Regions from separate parts of the Homo sapiens genome. Here all the other regions are linked to region 1. The links are contacts of gene promoters, found by promoter capture Hi-C in human tissues and cell types (Jung and others, 2019). All regions are on one chromosome and are shown on one strand. The core of a region is centred on a gene start or on the middle of the fragment in contact, and the rest is flanking DNA. Distances in the headings are between cores, read along the strand shown.

What was found. Contacts are between HindIII fragments. The study calls those that stand out against the background at their distance.
Region 2: a fragment that was not itself captured here is called in contact with the fragment with the promoter of SLC5A11 in region 1 in 5 of the 25 tissues and cell types used here (H1 embryonic stem cells, IMR-90 fibroblasts, dorsolateral prefrontal cortex and 2 more).
Region 3: a fragment that was not itself captured here is called in contact with the fragment with the promoter of SLC5A11 in region 1 in 2 of the 25 tissues and cell types used here (bladder and hippocampus).

Annotation. Positions count from the first base shown.
Region 1 is chr16:24,844,645-24,847,318 of GRCh38, reverse strand. It overlaps SLC5A11 (solute carrier family 5 member 11), which reads right to left and starts at 1,356. Exons shown (of 17, transcript NM_001352248.3): 1 at 1,307-1,356; 2 at 881-1,087. The HindIII fragment of the contact is 12,271 bases long and covers 32-2,674 here.
Region 2 is chr16:24,962,013-24,964,686 of GRCh38, reverse strand. ARHGAP17 (Rho GTPase activating protein 17) reads left to right here. Exons shown (of 20, transcript NM_001006634.3): 7 at 379-490. Among named protein-coding and RNA genes, the nearest start is that of ARHGAP17, 52 kb to the left of the region's middle. The HindIII fragment of the contact is 8,561 bases long and covers 1-2,674 here.
Region 3 is chr16:24,746,257-24,748,930 of GRCh38, reverse strand. The region is part of intron 2 of TNRC6A (trinucleotide repeat containing adaptor 6A); the gene reads right to left. Among named protein-coding and RNA genes, the nearest start is that of TNRC6A, 18 kb to the right of the region's middle. The HindIII fragment of the contact is 3,228 bases long and covers 1-2,674 here.

The DNA of each region.
Region 1 (2,674 bases), core at 107-2,606:
GAAGAAAGAAAGAAAGAAAGAAAAAAGGGAAAAGAAAGAGAAACAGAGAGGTGGGAGGGAGGGAAGGAAGGAAAGAAGGAAGGAGAAAGAAAGGGAAAGAAAGGAATAAGGAAAGAAATAAAAGAAAGAAGGAAAGAAAGAAAGAACAAAGAAAAGAAAGGAAAAGAAAGAAAAAGAAAGAAAGAGAAAAAGAAAGAAAGGAAAGAAAAAGAAAATCACTGATATTGTGGCTGAGCTCATGGCCACAGGAATTGAGTCTTGGCTTGGCCACTCACTATCTGTATTACCTTGAGCAAGTTATTTAATGACCCTTAGACTCTGTCCATGAATTAGGGGGTGCTGTACCTACCTTACAGGGTTTCTGTGTCAGTTAGATGAGATCCAGGCGTAAAGTTCTCTGCACGTGTCTGACACGTACCAGTGAAGACTTGTATTTGCCTTGTAGTTAACAGCAGCTGCAGTTGTAGTAAATACATTCCTATAGCTTTTTAATGCTTATGTGGATACATTTACCTTCGTTATCTCTGGGTAACACACCTGTGGGGTGGGTCAGCCTGAGGTTCATATTCCCATTTGACAGATAAGGAACCTGAGACTCGGTGAGGCAAAATGTTTGGCTCAATGTCCCTGACCTTGGTTAAGTGGAAGAGCTGGGACCCACGTACGGTGCTGCTGGCTGCCGGCTGCTGGCTTCATACCACCATGCCCACCCCACAAACACACTCCATTGTCCTGGTGTATGACAAGCTTTCTCTGCAGAGAGGGCTGAGCTTCCCCTGCCCCACAGGTGACAGCTGGAGTCCTTCTGCCAGCACCTGTCCCCAGACCAACTTCCCAGTTTGGAGAGTGGCTACCTGTTTGGGGGCAGGGGGTGTCTTACCTTATTCCAGATGCAGGGCTCACCTGCCCTGGGGGCTGTCAGTGGCTTCTAAGGCACTAGGAGGTGGCGGTGGTTGTAAGGAGGGAGATACCCGGGATCCTCTCTCTTTGCAGCCAAGAGCTTCCGGAGACAGCAGTGACCCTTCCTCCTATATGCCCGCTGCTGAGAGAGCCTCCAAGCGGGTCAAACTCCAAACTCCAGCCTCAGCTGCAGCGGGGATTAAAGGAAGCGTGAATGATCTCCCCAGGGCAGAAGAGAGAACGGGGCCCAGCCCAGGACCCTTGAACTCTGAGCAGGTGGGGAAGGTGACATGTCCCACGCTCTGCCCACACCGTCCTCCACCAGGGTCCTCACCTGCGTGGGGACCCATGGCATGGAGGGGTTGGGGAGACGCTGGAGCCCAAGGCACCATCCTGCTTCACTCACCCAGTCTTCCACTGTCCCGCCTCCACGCTGGGGACAGGCAGGCTTGGGACGAGCTGGAGGAAGGGGAGGGGAGGAAAAATGCTGGCGGCGGATGGAGGGGACAGAGGCAAAGTGCCAGGAGGGACGTCCAGCCACAGCCCTCACCGCAGTGGCAGCAACAGGAACAGCAACCATTGCTTGTGCAACCCCTTTCCATATACTCTTCAGACAGAGGCATGGCAAAGAACAGGTGTCTGCCTGAAGTCGAGAGTTCGAGACCAGCCTGACCAACATGGAGAAACCCCATCTCTACTAAAAATACAAAGTTAGCCGGGTATGGTGGTGCATGCCTGTGGTCCCAGCTACTCGGGAGGCTGAGGCAGGAGAATCACTTGAATCCGGGAGGCGGAGGTTGTGGTGAGCCGAGATTACACCATTGCACTCCAGCCTGGGCAACAAGAGCGAAAATCAGTCTCAAAAAAAGAAGAAGAAGAAGAAGAAGAGGTGTCTGAGGCCCTGAAAAACCGTCAGGAGTGACCGAGCCATGGCCAGGCGCCCACATCGGGCCCAGGACATCAGCGGGGCATAGCGAAGATTTCTGCCAGATGCTCAAAGCATCCAAAACTTTATTTACTTTTTATTTCTGAGACAGGATCTCACTCTGTCACCCAGGCTGGAGTGCAGTGGTGGCATCACAGCTTGCTGCAGGCTCATCCTCCTGGGCTCAAGTGATCCTCCCACCACAGCCTCCCGAGTAGCTGGGACTACAGGCGTGCACCACCACACCCAGCTAATTTTTTCATTTTTTTGGTAGAGAGAGAATCTTGCTATGTTGCCCAGGCTGGTCTCCAACTCCTGGGTTTAAGTGATCCTCCCACCTTGGCCTCCCAAAGTGCTGGGATTACAGGGGTCAAACACTGTGCCAGGCCAAATACCAAAACATTTTAAAAATAGTTACTAGTATTTGCAAACCAAGAGGCTTGAAACATAATTCTAGAATACTCACTTTTCTAGAACAACCTGAAGATCTGGCCTCACCAGGCCCCCATGGCCACAGGACAGCTGCTGACTGGGGAGGAGTCGTGGCCTCCCCATCTCACTCCTTCACTGGGCCTGCCAGGCTCTGGGGGGCCCTCAGCTGAGGCCCCTGTCCTGGCACCGAGTAGCCAGAAATAATAGCAGTGATGAACACGTGCCAGGCTCTAAGGGCACAACATGCCTTTACTCACTTGGTCTTTCCAACAACCCTCGAAGTTAGGTCCTGTTATCTCTATCTTACTGACGAGGTAACAGAGGTAGAGGAGATGAGTCATCGGCCCAGGATCACCCGGGTTGTAAGTGACACAGCAAGATTTCAGCCCAGGCCACCTGGCTCTAGAGTCCTGCAGG
Region 2 (2,674 bases), core at 84-2,583, 120 kb before region 1:
CTCAAAGCAAGAGAGCAAGGAGAGCACCTTGCTCTCCTCCGGTGGCAGGGATTCCATGGTTGGCCACCACAAGAAAGGGGTTCCATGGATTTCTCTCCAGTAGTAGAGTTTGTGTGAGACAAGATGTGGTTGGTTATGCTCAAAGCAGACCACTACTCCTAGCACTATGAGAGTCCTGTCATGGTGAGAAGCTAAAGTCTCCTTTTGCCTGCTTCCATTCTTAGAGAATAAGCTCAAGAGAATTTGGCATCCTGGGCAATGATACCCCTTCCAGGTAGAATCAATTGTGGGGAAGGATCTATCTCCACCAGGTCCTGCCTCCAGCTGTTGAGTATACACAGCTGGTTCTCAGATGCTGGTGACCCCTTTGTTTTGCAGGTGGAACCAAGCTCACAAATCCTCAGGAACCAACTTTCAGGGGCTTCCATCAAAAATAGATACTCTAAAGGAAGAGATGGATGAAGCTGGAAATAAAGTAGAACAGTGCAAGGTATGAGAATTCCTTGATAAATGTATCTTTTCGGTTTTTGCAAATGAGGGATGAAAGTTCAAATGTAAGTTACTTAATGTTTTAAATAATTTCTATCAGAATATTTTGAATGATTTTAAAGGTAGGTTTTATTTTCTTCTTCTCTAAGACTATATTATTTTATGATCAGAATAAAACATTTTAAATTTCAAATAGGATATTTTTAAAAACTTGACAAGATGTCTAAGCTTATTTAAAGATGAAGTCAGAAAAAAGGAAAGAAAACCATAGCAAAACATATAATAAAATTACAGCGATTAAAAATGCATAAGAAATACAAAAGTAAGAAAAAAGAAGTAAAACTGTATAAGAAGCATTAAAATAGATCAGTGAAATAGTATAGGTTTTCTGGAATGAATGCTATAATGTAAAATTTAATATACAGTAAATGGCTCATATGTCCTTGGAGAAGATAAGGATTACTTTTAAAATGTTGCTTGAACAATTGGTTTGTAATTTGGGAGAAATAGAGCTTTTTATCTCATAAATTACAGATTAATTAGATGGTCAAGTGATCTCATTCTCTCTGCATCCACCTGTGTAGATAGATGTTCATTCTGAATGTTATTTGAGGTGAAATTATTTGAAATGGTAAAGGAATAGGTCTTCGGGGAGTCTTGACAATCTAGAGTCTTAAGTCTGGATTGACTTAGACTTTTCCTGCTCTTATTTTTCATTGTTTTAAAAAAATTGTTTTTTTATTTCCTGCTAATATTAAGACTGTTATATTTTAGTTCATTTAGGTCATGACATACTTTGCTTTTCAAAATAGCAAACCTTGATCAGTTAACTGCAATTAAATGACTTGTTTAAAATAATATAGTGGGTAGAAATATAAGAAAAATATAAAAATAATATAGTGGGTAGAAATTAAAACTAAACTCACAAAGTTATGCCTTTGTTTTAAAAAGTTTTTATGTTTAAAAGATGATATTCAGATAAATGCTTCTACTAAAATAATGTCACATTGGCTTATTTGTGGTCTGAAGAGTTGTAGCTTTGTCAGTGTCATTTACCCAGCAGTCTTCTTAATATCTGGTCTAACCTAGATCCTGGCTATTGCCTACTTATTGCACACAAATTTGGGTAGAGGTTTAGGAAGTCATCATGGGCTGATGTCTGTTCTCTCAACTTCCACACTTGTCAGTATTTCAAGTGGTAAAAACTTAAGAAAATATTTTCTGCCTCCTTCTCTCTCTATGCATACCTTGTGGGTAATTTCCTCAGATCTATGTTCTGTTTCACTGATTCTCTCTTTAGCTATGTTTGATCTGCTACTCAAATAACACTGAGTTTTTAATTTCATTGACTATATTTTCCATTTCTGAAGTTCTAGTTATTCAAATCTTTTTGATACTACATTATTCTTTTCTAGTGTTTCTTTCTTTTAAGTCATTTTAAACATACTTATTTAATAATCTCTGTTAATTCTGTTTTCTGAAATTCTCTGTGAGAGTGGTAGGTGTCTGCTTGTGGTGGATTATTTCCTCATGTGTTTTGTAATTATTTGAACTCATTTTAAGAGGGGCTTTATCTGTGGGACTATCAGGGATTGGGAATGAGACTTCCCAGAGAGTATTACCAGTCCAGGTCCATTTTTAATTAAACTTAAATCAGTTTGGGGTTTCTGGGACCACATGTCAGTAAATTTAAACTTTAAACCCTCCTGAAAGCAGGCCTATGTTTTGTGAAATCTCTTGGCCAATGTTTCTCAGACCTAAAGCCCATTCCAAAACAGACATACTTCCCCATGATTTCCATGTGATGCTAAGTGCATTTGTTCTAATCTGTTGTTTCGTTGAGAGTACAGTTCTTCAGGAATCTTATCTTTATGCATGATATATGTGTACTTGTTTCTCCTTACTAGTCCCCAAGGCTTCAGACACCTTGGTCACCAAGACTGGCACAAATCTGCCCCAGGTCATCTCCAGCTTCCATTGATGCTTAGCATTCCGACTTTTTCTTTCTTTCTGCTTCTTTTTCTTCTTTCTCTCTTTGTGTGTGTGTGTGTATGGTGGGGTTGAGGGGAATCAAGGAATTTACTTTATTGCTTTCCCAGTTATTATAAAAGGATGTTCATTACTTCTAACTAGCATTTCCAAGTTTTTGTCATAAATGGGAGGCCCTTCACATTAATTTGTGTAC
Region 3 (2,674 bases), core at 113-2,612, 98 kb after region 1:
TGCATTCCAGCCTGGGCGACAGAGCAAGACTCTGTTTCAAAAAAAAGGAATATCAGGCAGAAAAAGAGAGATTTGGAGATATGAACTAGACATTTTGGAAGCTGCACATTATTTATCAAGGCTGGAATGCATATGGCAGTAGGGATGTTGAAGAAGATAAAAGGAGAAAGACAAGTGCCTAAGAAACTGGAAGGGGTTGTTGCTATAGGTGCGCTGCAATGAGATTAAACAAAATTTAAGTTGGCTTTGCTGATGGAACAGACTGAGAGGAGATGCAGACACCGAAAAATGAAATGAATGACATTATGCACAATTGATAAAAACTTAGTAAAGTATAGGACTACTAAAATCAGCTAAAAGGATAACTGGAAGAAGAGTATGATAACTGTTGCTATACTTCGCTGTCATTTTGTTACAAGCAGAAGTGTCATGTGGCTAATGGAGTAACATAACAGATTCCTGCCAACTGTGGCCATGACTCACTCTCTTTTGAATTCTGTGTGCAGGAGGTAGTAAGACTGAACAAGCTCACTCACACTACAATCCCAGGGAAGTCAAGGAGCAAGAAAGCCACAGCATATGAGAGCAGCAGAGTAAAATCAGTAAACAACGGCAACTAGGTTACACCACTGTCATGTTACCTACCCTGAGACATGCAGAAGTCAAGATTAAAAGCTGATTACTAGTTAAAAATACTTAATCTTCTTCAGCCTCTGTTTCTTCATGAAAAAACTGGGGGCAAATGACCATACATGTCAATGTCTTAATATTTTTATAAGAATTAGGACTGCTTACTTAGCACAAAGCTTATCTAGTAAGCACTCAATTGCCTAGCCATGAATCCAACTCACCAGTCCTCAGTGGCACCCAAAAGGCTGTCTTTACCCTTCTTGTGTCAAAATAGCACAGGTACTTATTCAGAAACATCTAGCACCTTCAGCATTTGTTCTTCATGTTCTGCTGTGAATTACAGACATGTCCTTTTCTGATCTTCTATGTCACTATAATTTTACTCCATGTAATGGTCTCTATCTGGAGTATTTTCTCCTTTCTCAAACTTCATTTTCAAGACTTTCTGATGAGGTTACTAGCAAGTGTTTTCCTGGCCAAAAATATCCCCTTTAGTACTTAAAAGATGTACCAGACATTTCTTCTCAAGGAAATATCACAGTATCAGCCGATACTGTAAGCACAGAGGGGAGTAAGTTTTGTTCTTCAACACTATCATCACAGCCAACCAGTCATGCTTTTTCCCATATCTCCTCCTTCAGAGAAAGCCAACTGGAAAAACAACAACAACACCTGTGCCCAAACACGTCAGCTTCCAGGAGTTAAATGTTCATAGAGACTCACTTAAGACATCTGACTATATCATTTACCACAACTATCAAGAGGAGCAAGGACTGATGGATTTGAAAGGCCTAAGTGGGCCACCCTGTTTGATGCACCTGCCACCAAGACAACACTCCAGTTAGCAATCATCCATGCCCTGAAGGCTACTTTGCAGGATACCTCACATCTGTAAGTTCTATGAATCTACCTCGTTGTCTGTAAAAACCAGACTCCCCTTTTATCAGAACTTGACTTATGTCCTGCATCTCATGTATAAAGGCTTTGAGGTGGCCTGTAAAAGTCAATGCCACTGAGGGAACTTTCTAGGAAAATGGAAATGTTTTCTAACTTGATTGGAGTGATAATTACAAGGGTGTATACATTTGTCAAATCATTCACCTACACACTCAATGTTTGAATTTTACTGTATGTAAATTGTATTTTAAAGTTGGTTTCATACATTGACTAGGGGAAATGCAATATCTCGATCTGAAAAAACAAATAGATCAAGATTAGGATTCCACACAACAAATCAAGCTAAGCTTCAAATTTTGCCCGTATCTTCCAGTAGCCACTACAAATGATTTACTTGTACCGTTCAAGAATGCGTTTCTGGCCGGGTATGGTGGCTCAGGCCTGTAATCCCAGGAGTCTGGGAGGCCAGGAGTTTGAGAACAGAATGGGCAACATAGTGAGAGTCTGTCTCTATTTCAAGGGCCTATCAAGGGAGCAGGGTACACCTTGGAGGTAGAATGCCCCTTCCTACTCTTGCGCCTCCTGACACTTGATGGTCAATTTTTCCTACATTCCCAGCCCTGAATATCATTAAAATTAATCCCTTCTGAAGGGTACTCTTGTACTTGCTATCAGAAGTATGTATGGACTAGCACTAAGCTTCTGGTGAGCAATTTGGAAGTATCTATTCACAATGAATTTTTAAATGTCACTATCTTATGATCCATCAATTCAAATCTAAGCCTCTGAAAAAGGAACCGTACAAAGATAGACACCGCAGCATAAAATCATAACCAAAAACCAATCAATAGGGAAAAGTTAAATCATCCTGTAATCACACCAAGGAATACTACACAGTAATTTTAAAGTGGGGCGGGGAGTAGATTTCCATAGTGTACAGAACCAGCTCCCAATAGAAACCTCAAGCACTAAACTTCTTATTTATTTATTTAGAGACGAAGTCTCACTCAGTTGCCCCGAGCTGGAATGAGGTGGTGCTGGTGTCAAACTCCTGGGCTCAAGCAATCCTCCTACCTCGGCCTACCAAAGTACTGGGATTACAGGGGTGAGCCACTGCACTCAGCTAGGAAACATGATTTTTTTTATA